2 separate regions of the Homo sapiens genome follow, and region 1 is linked to region 2. The links are contacts of gene promoters, found by promoter capture Hi-C in human tissues and cell types (Jung and others, 2019). All regions are on one chromosome and are shown on one strand. Each heading gives the region's core, a stretch centred on a gene start or on the middle of the fragment in contact. The rest is flanking DNA. Distances are from core to core; before and after follow the strand shown. Region 1 overlaps KDM6A (lysine demethylase 6A). Region 2 holds the start of FUNDC1 (FUN14 domain containing 1).

The links. The method cuts DNA at HindIII sites, captures the fragments that hold promoters and counts their contacts. A contact is called where the count stands out against the background at its distance.
Region 1: a fragment that was not itself captured here is called in contact with the fragment with the promoter of FUNDC1 in region 2 in 1 of the 25 tissues and cell types used here (adrenal gland).

Annotation. Positions count from the first base shown.
Region 1 is chrX:44,880,052-44,885,454 of GRCh38, forward strand. All of the region lies in intron 2 of KDM6A (lysine demethylase 6A), which reads left to right. Among named protein-coding and RNA genes, the nearest start is that of KDM6A, 9.6 kb to the left of the region's middle. The HindIII fragment of the contact is 5,938 bases long and covers 1-5,059 here.
Region 2 is chrX:44,539,372-44,544,724 of GRCh38, forward strand. FUNDC1 (FUN14 domain containing 1) reads right to left here and starts at 3,488. Exons shown (of 5, transcript NM_173794.4): 1 at 3,434-3,488; 2 at 2,574-2,730. The coding sequence starts at 3,461. RefSeq lists enhancers at 3,183-3,572, 3,753-3,802, 3,813-3,872. The HindIII fragment of the contact is 19,174 bases long and covers 1-5,353 here.

The sequences.
Region 1 (5,403 bases), core at 841-3,340, 340 kb after region 2:
AGTCCCAGCTACTTGGGAGGCTGAGACAGGAGAATTGCTTGAACCTGGGAGGCAGAGGTTGCAGTGAGCTGAGATGGTGCCACTGCACTCCAGCCTGGGCGACAGAGCGAGACTTCATCTCAAAAAAAAAAAAAAAAAATCACATTTTAGCTTTTAGCAGATGTTCAAAGGATGATCTGCTGTGTGTTCTGTCCTTCTTTGATTTCATTTTGTAGTAATATTTACCTTGTTATGAGTTCTTAACTTGAGATTCTTAAATGAGTGTTCATGGGTCAATTTAAATTCTCTGACAGAGTTTGGAAGGACACTCAGGATGACTTAATGGTCATCTTGGAGTACAAGACACTTTTGGGGTGAGAAGGAGGGGAGATTTTAAACTGTTTTATAGATTTCTGTACTGCTTTTTTTTTTTTTTTTAACACCGTAGACATATATTACCTTAAAAATAATACAATAAGGCCAGGCGTGGTGGCTCGTGCCTGTAATCCCAGCACTTTGGGAGACTGAGGCGGATGGATCAACTGAGGTCAGGAGTTCGAGACCAGCCTGGCCAAAGTGGCAAAACCTCATCTCCACTAAAAACACAAAAAATTAGCCAGGCGTGGTGGTGGGCGCCTGTAATCCCAGCTACTTGGGAGGCTGAGGCAGGAGAATTGTTTGAACCAAGGAGGCGGAGGTTGCAGTGAGCCGAGATCGCGCCACTGCACTCCAGCCTGGGCAACAGAGCATGTCTCCATCTCAAACAAACAAACAAAAAAAAGTACTCTGATAGTACACCAGAATGTTATATTTTGGTTGACTAAAAATGGGTTTAAACTACCATGTCTATAGTTAGAAGAGATACTTGTAAAGGCCTTTCTTGCATTTTAATTACAGTCTGAAGTTGGGATACTTTTGAACTTGATGTTCCTTCAGTGAGGGTAGGAGTGAATGGAGTAGAGATGTACCCAATTAGGTCCTATTTCTTTGTGTTTTAGATGGCTTTGTGACAGTCACTGCGCTCATTCTTCATTTTGATCTTTAGCATTTCATTGCTGACTTTATTTTGAGTCTGATTTGGCACAGGCTGATACTTGGGACCTGATTAAGAACTGTAACCTGGGCCGGGCGCGGTGGCGCATGCCTGTAATCCCAGCACTTTGGGAGGCCGAGGCGGGCATCACGAGGTCAGGAGCTCGAGACCAGCCTGGCTAACATGGTGAAACCCCGTCTCTACTAAAAATACAAAAATTATCTGGGTGTGATGGCGCGTACCTGTAATCCCAGCTACTCGAGAGGCTGAGGCAGGAGAATATTGCTTGAACCCAGGAGATGGAGATTGCAGTGAGCCGAGATCGTGCCACTGAACTCCAGCCTGGCGACAGAGCAAGACACCATCTCAAAAACAAAAAACAACAAAAAAACTGTCACCTGGAAGGGTGGGAGTAATCCCTTGTTAGACAGTTTTAGGTTTCTGAGCTAATTTGTAGACTGCTTGCAACTTTCTTCTATAAGCTTTTATTATTTTTTCTCTTACCTATTTCTTCCTTATATTCCATCATTTGTTTACTTCTGTATATTATTAAAACTGTTGGTGGTGTTCCATTGTGAATGTATTCTTGTATGCTTTTTGTAATTTTCTCTGTGGTACTATTTTGTCTTTTTTTTTTTTTTGAGATGGCATTTCACTTTTGTTGCCCAGGCTGCAGTGCAATGTCGCAATCTCGACTCACTGCAACCTCCGTCTCCAGGGTTCGAGCGATTCTCCTTCCTCAGCCTCCTGAGTAGCTGACATTACAGGTGTGCACCACCACGCCTAGCTAATTTTTGTATTATTAGTAGAGATGGGGTTTCACTGTGTTCGCCAGGCTGGTCTCCAACTCCTGACCTCAGTTGATCCCCCCGCGTCGGCCTCCTGAAGTGCTGGGATTACAAGCGTGAGCCACCATGCCTGGCTGAGTATTTTGCCTTTGTTAGAATAAATAGAAGATGCTGCTGCTAAGTTTATTCTCAGGAAGAAAGTTGGGGTTATACTTAAGGGTATTATATAAGGTCATCTAATTCATTTTAGTTTAGAACAGTGGAAGAAATTGTTTTAGACAAAGGGTTATTTTTAAACTACAAATTTATTACGTGTTCATTAGATTTTTCTCTCTTTTTGAAAAAAAAGTTTATTAGGAAAAATTTTCAGTGTTTTCAGAAAGTATTGCAAATCAACCATCACCCAGCTTTAATAGTTTGCAACTCATGACCAGTCCTGTTTCATCTATATATATTTTGCCCCTCACTCATGTTATTTTGAAGCACATCTCAGCAATCAGTCACAGCATTTAATCCATAGATGTTTGTTTCTGAAACATAACCGTGATGCCCTTATTACATGTAAAATAATTTCTTAATCTCAAATATCTGTGGACCTTGTTTTTTGCTGTATGGAAGTTAAGAAATAATTGCTTGGAAAATGAGTAGAAAACATGTTTAGCTGAGTATGTGATGTGAATTTTGTTTGTATTTTGATACTGCTATAGTGTTCTGTGATAGAATATTACATAATATGTGACACAAGAGGTAATTTTTCCTGAGAACTTTATGAATCATAGTTGCTTGAGTCTGGATAGTTTTTATTTTTAGGGAAAATTTGTTTTCAAGATACAGTAGTTAAATAAATATTTTAGGTTTCTGAATTTCAAATATCAGAATGAGAACTACAAAAGCTTTTGCTTTGCTTGATTGATTGGTGAAACATTTGTTGAGCTGCTGTGGGTGAGGGATTGTGTCAGGTTCTGGGGCAACCAATAAGACCTGGCCTCTGTCCTGCAGTCAGTCTGTTGGGAGAGGCTGACAGACTGAGTGATCATATGATGTATTAAGTGTAATAATAAAGATACATGCAAAGTGCTGTGAGCTCTGAAATGATGGAGTAATTAAAACATTTAAAACTTTTTATTATGCATCATTTAAAGTATGTACAGGTATTGAAGGTAGTTTAATGAACTCCTGTTTTCAACGGTTCTCCACATTTTGGAGCAGTTAAGTTTTTTTTTTTTTTTGAGGCAGGGTCTCACTATGTCAGCTGTCACCCAGGCTGAGTGCAGCGATGCTATCTCGGCTCACTGCAACCTCTGCCTCCCAGGCTCAAGCAATTCTCCTGTCTCAGCCTCTTGAGTAGCTGGGACTATAAGCGTGAACCACCAAGCCTGGCTACTTTTTTGTATTTTTTTGTAGAGACAGGGTTTCATTATGTTGCCCAGACTGGTCTCTAACTCCTGGGCTCAAGGTATCTGCCCGTGTCAGCCTCCATAGGTCCTGGGATTACAGGTGTGAGCCACTGTGCTGGCTGGAGCAGTTAGTTTGTTTTTTGAGACAGAGTCTCGCTCTGTCGTCCAGGCTGGAGTGCAGTGGTGTGATCTTGGCTCACTGCAACCTCCACCTCCCAGGTTCAAGTGATCCTCCTGCTTCAGCCTCCCGAATAGCTAGGATTACAAGCGTGCGCCACCATGCCTAGCTAATTTTTTTGATTTTTAGTAGAGATGGGGTTTCACCATGTTGGCCAGGCTGGTCTTGAACTCTTGGCCTCAAGTGATCCTCCCGTCTTTGTCTCCCAAAGTTCTGGGATTACAAGCGTGAGCCACCCCGCCTGGCCTGGAGCAGTTAGTTTTGACTGGAGAAGTGACTGAGGGAAACTGCACAAAGATTCAGCATTTAGCCTTGGTTATGAAACATGTAGAAATTTACCAGACATGTAGATGTAGCAAGAGGAAAAAGAGGGTAAAGAGTTAGAAGTATAAACTGAGCGTGGAGGCTCACGCCTGTTGTAATCCCAGCACTTTGGGAGGCCGAGGCTGGTGGATCACCTGAGGTCGGGAGTTCGAGACCAGCCTGACCAACATGGATAAACCCCATCTCTACTAAAAATACAAAATTAACCGGGTGTGGTGGCGCATGCCTGTAATTCCAGCTACTTGGGAGGCTGAGGCAGGAGAATAGCTTGAACCCGGGAGGTGGAGGTTGTGGTGAGCCGAGATTGCACCACTGCACTCCAGCTTGGGCAACAAGAGTGAAACTCTATCTCAAAAAAAAAAAAAAAAAAAAAAAAAAGAGTTAGAGGTATAAAGTTAAATGGTGTTTGAGGAATTGTGAATAGTCAGGTATGGGTAGAGGGTAGCATGTTTCAGTGGGATTGGGAAAAGATAACTGAACATGTGAGAAGCCCCATCACTATAGGCCGTAGGATGTTTTGGGGCATTGTTAAACTGAACTCTCTAATCAGGTGAAGTGACATGACCAGAAGTAGGTTTTATGGGAATATTACTGGCCACTGTGAGAAGGATATGGTGTAAGGGAAAGGAACTTCAGTACCGATGGGTAGATAGCAATGCATGAATTTTAGGATAGAATTCTGTTCCTACCACTTACTAGATGTGTGATCCTTGGGCAAGCAAGCATCTTTCAGAGCCTCAGTTTTCTTATCTGTAAAGTAGAAGTAGTAATACATTTCCCGCAGACTATTGCATTTTGTGTTAGGGGAAAAAATGTAAAGTGTGTGGCATTGGGCTTGGTGCATGAAAGGTGCTCAGTATAAGATAATATCTTGGATAATGGTAACGTCTTGGAAGAGACGAGTTTAAACTAAGGCTGTGGTTTAGGAATGGGGTGAGATGGAGGCAGACTTAAGAGCTCTTGAAAAAGGCCTTTTCTTGGCTTTCATAACATCCTTGCTACTTTGACTTTGTATCTGACAACATCTCAGTCTTTGCAAGGATGCTGTGTTTTAGGTCCTCTTTACTCACCCTGTTCCCAATTTACATACATGTTTGACTGCCTACTTGACTACCTTGGTATCTTGAAGGTATCTCAAACTGAACATATGCAAACTGAATTTATAATTGTCTTTAATATTCCTTGTCTTAGTAAATGTCACTTACCACTACCCATGCCAGAAACCTTGGAATAGTTGTTGACATCTCTTTTTCTCAATTCCTAATCACCCGACCTCATCATTTCTATTTTTTTTTTTTTTTTGAGACAAAGTCTCACTTTGTTACCCATGCTGAGTGCATTGGCATGATCACTGCTCACTACAGCCTGACCTCCCAGGCTCAAGTGGATCCTCCCACTCCAGCTACGTGGGACTATAGGCATGTGCCAGCACGTGCAGCTAATTTTTTTTTTTTTTTGTAGAGATGAGGTCCTTCTTTGTTGCCCAGGCTGGTCTTGAACTCTGGAACACAAGTGATCTTCTGGCCTTGGCCTCCAAAGTGCTGGGATTACAGGCATGAGCCGTTGTGCCTGGCCTACATTTCAAATCTCAAATCCGTTTCCCTCCATCCCCACTGCCCCCATCCTAATTGCAGCCATGATATTGTCTTTGACTTTTGAAATACCTTCATGCAATTTTTTGAATATAGGTATACTTGCACATAG
Region 2 (5,353 bases), core at 2,238-4,737:
ACTGCAGATGTAATAAGTTCAGATGAGATCATACTGGACAGGGTGGGCCTTTAATCCGATAAGGACGCACACAGAGGGAAGACGACATGTGAGGACAACAGAGGCAGAGACTGGAGTAATACGTCTACAAGCCAAGGAATGACAAGGATTGCTGGCAACCACCAGAAGCTAGCAGAGAAACATAAAACAGATTTCTCCCTCTGAGCCTCCAAGAAGGAACAAACCCTGTTGACATCCTGATTTCAGACTTCTAGCCTCCAGAACTGTGAGAGAATAAATTTCTGTTATTTAATTTAATTAATTAATTTATTTTTTAGATGGAGCTCGCTCTGTCACCCAGGTTGGAATGCACTGGTGCCATCTCAGCCCACTGCAACCTCCGCCTCCCGGGTTCAAGCAATTCTCCTGCCTCAGCCTCCTGAATAGCTGGGATTACAGATGCCCGCCACCACACCCAGCTAATTGTTGTATTTTTAGTAGAGACGGGGTTTCACAATGTTGGCCAGGCTAGTCTTGAACTCCTGACCTCTGGTGATCCACCCGCCTCGGCCTCCCAAAGTGCTGGGATTACCAGTGTAAGCCACCGCACCTGGCCTCCACAGTTCTATATATTTTATCTCCAAAACATTATTTGACTGTCTTCTCCTTTCCACTCTCAAGGTCATCATTACCTTGCTTCCAGAACACTTTAAGGGCCCTCTAACTGGTCTCAACACCTCCCATCTCTCCTAGCAAGGACCCATCCTAATAGTTTTAATTTTTTGTCATGATCAAAAGCCTACAGCTACCTACAGCAAAATAAAATCTCCTCAGCCTCCTATACATGTCTTGAATTGGTCTAAATTGCTAACTTGTTAGGTTAGTGCCTATTAACTGTTCCTCCTTAATATACACCATAATATCACATCAGTTTTACATCCTAAGAAAATTGCAAAAATTTACTACACTGAATATAGTCATTGCAACAAATCGCCTGTATAATTATTAGAGTTGTATTATACAGCTCCTGGACCAACACCTGGCTGTAATCCAAATGTGTGTGTTGTGTGTGTGTGTGTGTGTGTGTGTGTGTATGTATATATACATATATGTCAGCAACAAAGGCTCAGAAAAGGGAACAGAAAAGGCAGGCAGCAGCCACAATGTCCCTTGGACTGTGTTCCACAAGCATGTGTATCCATTGCTTGATGGCATCAGTCACTAAAATGAACCTATCTCCTGCTGCTCTGTCTCTAGGCTTTCCGAGCAAACTTCTGCCAATGATGGGGCTTCATCTACAAGGAGTCTGGTCTCCAAGGAGAAACAATGAAATGACTTGATAATTCTATTCTCAATTATTTTTGAGTCTGTTTTAAGACTGGGCTTTAGGCCCTGACTGACATTAACCAATCACCCATGGAACCAAATTGTGAGCTTATTTAAGCAGAGCCATACCCTGAATTACAGGGCTAGAGGAACTATCAGCCTGTGGAGAATTATCTGAATGACCAGGCCCTGACAGGCATCTCTCTTCTAATTGCAGGCTTTTTTCCTGCAGCAGCACTAGTAAGTACATATCATGAATAAATGCCGCACCTCTGCACCACAGAATCTTCACAATGAGTACTTCTATCATAAAATGGCATTTGCAAAAAAAAAGGCATAGAAGAGTGGGTCATTATTCCAAGGTGCATGTAAAACACAAATCAAAAAACTCATCGTTATACTTATCAAGTGGAAACAGGTAAATATTTCAATTAAATCTATGTAAGATGAATTTAAATAAGAATCTAAGAAAAAACGCTTATGCACAAGTTAAGTACCCTCACTAACTCCAAAATTTCTCTACAGTCACGAACATTTTCAAAACAGTCAAATTTGTTTCTGCCCCTTGTTATCTGGCTAGTTTTTTTATTATAAGAACAGAATTAGATCCACAGTAGCCATTGTGTTATCACGTGGTCTGAAATGTTAACTGGTCAGGCTGATGGTTATTAACTACTTCTTAATGGACTCCACAATATTATCAAGTAAGCAATCAGACCTTTAAACACAGAATTAACGTTCTACAGCTCTTTTTCAAAGAGTTATCATAATCTGAACGAGCCCACAAAAAACAGAATCATCTGTATCATCACCAATAATTCATACTGAGCATTTTACACTGCTCTGTACAGGGCTGACAATACTAGAGGCCAGTTCTACCGTGGGAGTTTCTTAGGTTTTTTCAGCAGTTAGCACTGAATGAAATGTAAAAATTTACATATAATTAACTCATATATTTCTTCCTATCTACTATCACTGAATCAGATCCACGACATTTGCTGAACATGAGAATGGGGAAATTATATAAAGAATCAAAAGAAGGATGAGGAGGGAGAAGAGGAACAGTGGTGGGCATGGGGGAGGGGATCGCCAAAACTCAACAGGGAGCCTGGGAATGTAGATTACATCAATTTTAACTCAGAGAAAAGCCTCTTCTGGAATTAACAGTGTAGACCTACTGCCTGTGCACGGTGATTCTTGCCCATGTATGAAAGGACAGCAGTGTCAGGCCCCCAAATGAAATTTAATGAAAAAGACGTTGTTCTCACCAGCCAGTAACGCCACCCATTACAATCTGGGTAGCTACTGAGTATTTTTCTACCATAGGTCCCGAACTGTGGCCAAACACTCGATTCCACCACTGGTGTCTTCTTGCATACTCAGTTAAATCCAACACTTCATAAGAGTCGTCATCACTTTCATAGTCTTCAAAATAGCAAAATGCAAAAAATAAATGTAGAGTCAATCAAAAGTCAGAAATGTTCTATACATCTTTTTAAAAATCTGTTACAACTCATTAGTTCTGGCCTACAGCTAAAAATGCCCACATAGAAACTACTGACTTTATTTAACTCAATTCTTGAGACCAGGGCCTCAAGAGTAAAGGACCCTGCAACAATGACCCCCATCTGCTTTCCCAAAGGCCCGGGGACCAGCCTGGGGTCACGAAGCCAGGGCCAACTCAGAATGACACAGTAGTGAGGGGTCACCCCCACCTCCAAACCTTAGTAGGGTCAAGGTCAGAGCAGGGTCCATTTTCATCAGTGGGAGGAATGGGGGTGGGGAGGGGTCCTCCTGAGAGAACTAGTCTGGAGCTCAGCGAAATCACTTGAGTCCAGACGTTTAAAAAAAGAAAATAATACATTTGAAGATGGGAGATGAAGGGCCGGAGGTGAAGGTAAGGCAGGAGGCAGGTAGGGCTGTGCTGGGGGTGGGGGTGGCTCTCCGCTTGAGTTCCGCAGAGAGGGGAGGAAAAAGTCTAGCTCGGAGGGGGTGCTCGAAGGGGCTGCCTTAAAAAAAAAATGGAGCTCGAAGAATCCTAGGGCAGGGGAAGGAAGAGGTGCCATAGGAGCAAGGTCGAGAGCTGTGAGCCGCGTCCCAGATACCACTTCGGGCCCTGGCCGCTCACCTTGGGGAGGGGGGTTCCGGGTCGCCATGATACCGCCAGCGGCCAATTCTGGAGTGGTCCCCACCCGCCCTCCTCTCCCTGGCACTTTAAGGGCCGCTCTAGGCCAGGATGGAAGTCTATGGTCTCTTTTTTCCTCCTTCTCCTACTCCAGGCGCGTAGTCCTGTCTCCGCCCCCTTCTCTCAGCGCAGGACCTTCTGCCTTCTGCGCAGGCGCGAAACTCCGGAATGTGGGGAGGGCCGGGCGGATCATAGCCCCGCGAGAGCGTAGGGGACTTGTAGTCCGTTGCCTTCCGCAACTAGGAAGGGGGAGGGACCGCCCCTCCTAGAATTTCCGTAACTTGAATTTGATTATTTTGTTTTAAAAGAGCCTTAAGGGCTGAAGGAATGGGGTGAAGGGCGCCACATGGTGGTACAAAGGGAGAACCAGCTGGGTATTGACAAAGACTCTCTCCTTGACCAAACTTTAGTCAGGAGGCTCCTCTGAGCTGTTTTTGACTGGGTCTCCTCCTTGGGTCGTCTTTGACCTGCCTAGTCCATTTGTGGTAAGAATGCAGTTAAGTCAGTTTAGTAAGAACTCCCCCACCCTTAATATCGAATCACCCTCAATATCCGATCGAATTCCTCAACCCCACTCTTGATATCTGATCACTCTGCCACCAGCAAAAATCCTGTTAAATTGGCTTTAGCAAGAATACCCCTACCCTTCATGTCTACTCTTGGTAATCTTCCACCCATTGATCCATTCACTCTGATCATTTACTATAAATTCCCTGCTGTATTCAGAGTTGAGACCCATCACTCACCCCTATTGCCATAGTCTTTGTTTTATGAGAAAAGGTATTGCTCTGTCACCAGGCTGGAGTGCAGTGGCGCTATCATGGCTCACTGCAGCCTCAAACTCCTGGGCCCAAGAGATCGGCCCACCTCAGCCTCCAGAGTACCCAGGACTCCAGGCGTGCATCACCACTCCCGGCTAATTTATTTTTATTTTTTGTGGAGAGTAGGTCTCCCTGTGTTGCCCAGGCTGCTCTTAAACTTCTGGGCTCAAGCAGTCTTCCTGCCTCTGCCTCCCAAAGTGCTGGGATTACAGATGTGAGCCACCATGCCAGGCTGTATTGCAATAGTTGTGATACCTATTGCAGTAGTCATGAACAAAGTCTTCCTTACCATTTTAAGAAGTGTCCCATAATTTTTTTGTCAGGCCCATCACTTGCATACTGTCAGAATAATTTTTTAACAGTATTTTGAACATTACCAGAATTCAAATGCTTGAGGAAAAAGGCTTGTAAAAGATAAGAGAAACCCTGTTTCAAGCCATACTTTTCTAAGGGCGCAAGCGCTCACAAAGGGACCACAAGTTTTCTAATGCCCTGCTGCTAGAAGTTGGAATCTGTTTACCTGCTCTCTCTCTTGAGTTCCTGCCAGGAATCCAAAGGAGGTAAAGAAAGGCCTAGAAACCTCGTAATTCCTGACCTGGCAAGAGGACATAATTTTTTAGTGTCATTCTTTTGTTTGTTTGTTTGAGATGGAATCTCGCTCTGTTGCCCAGGCTGGAGTGCAATGGCACAATCTCGGCTCACTGCAACCTCCACCTCCCGAATTCAAGTGATTCTCCTGCCTCAGCCTCCCAACATCCCAAGGAGCTGGGATTACAGGCACGTGCCACCACGCCCGGCTAATTTTTGTATTTTTAGTAGAGAGGGGGTTTCACCATGTTGCCCAGGCTGGTCTCGAACTCCTGATCTCAGTGATCCACCCACCTGGGCCTCCCAAAGTGCTGGGATCACAGGGGTGAGCCACCGTACCCGGCCAGCATCATTCTTATTATTTAAATCTGACAGAGGAACAAGGTCAAGGTCTTCACCCAGAAACCCCATGGGATTCTATGAATACAAAGCCATATTGATCACCAAGCAGCTA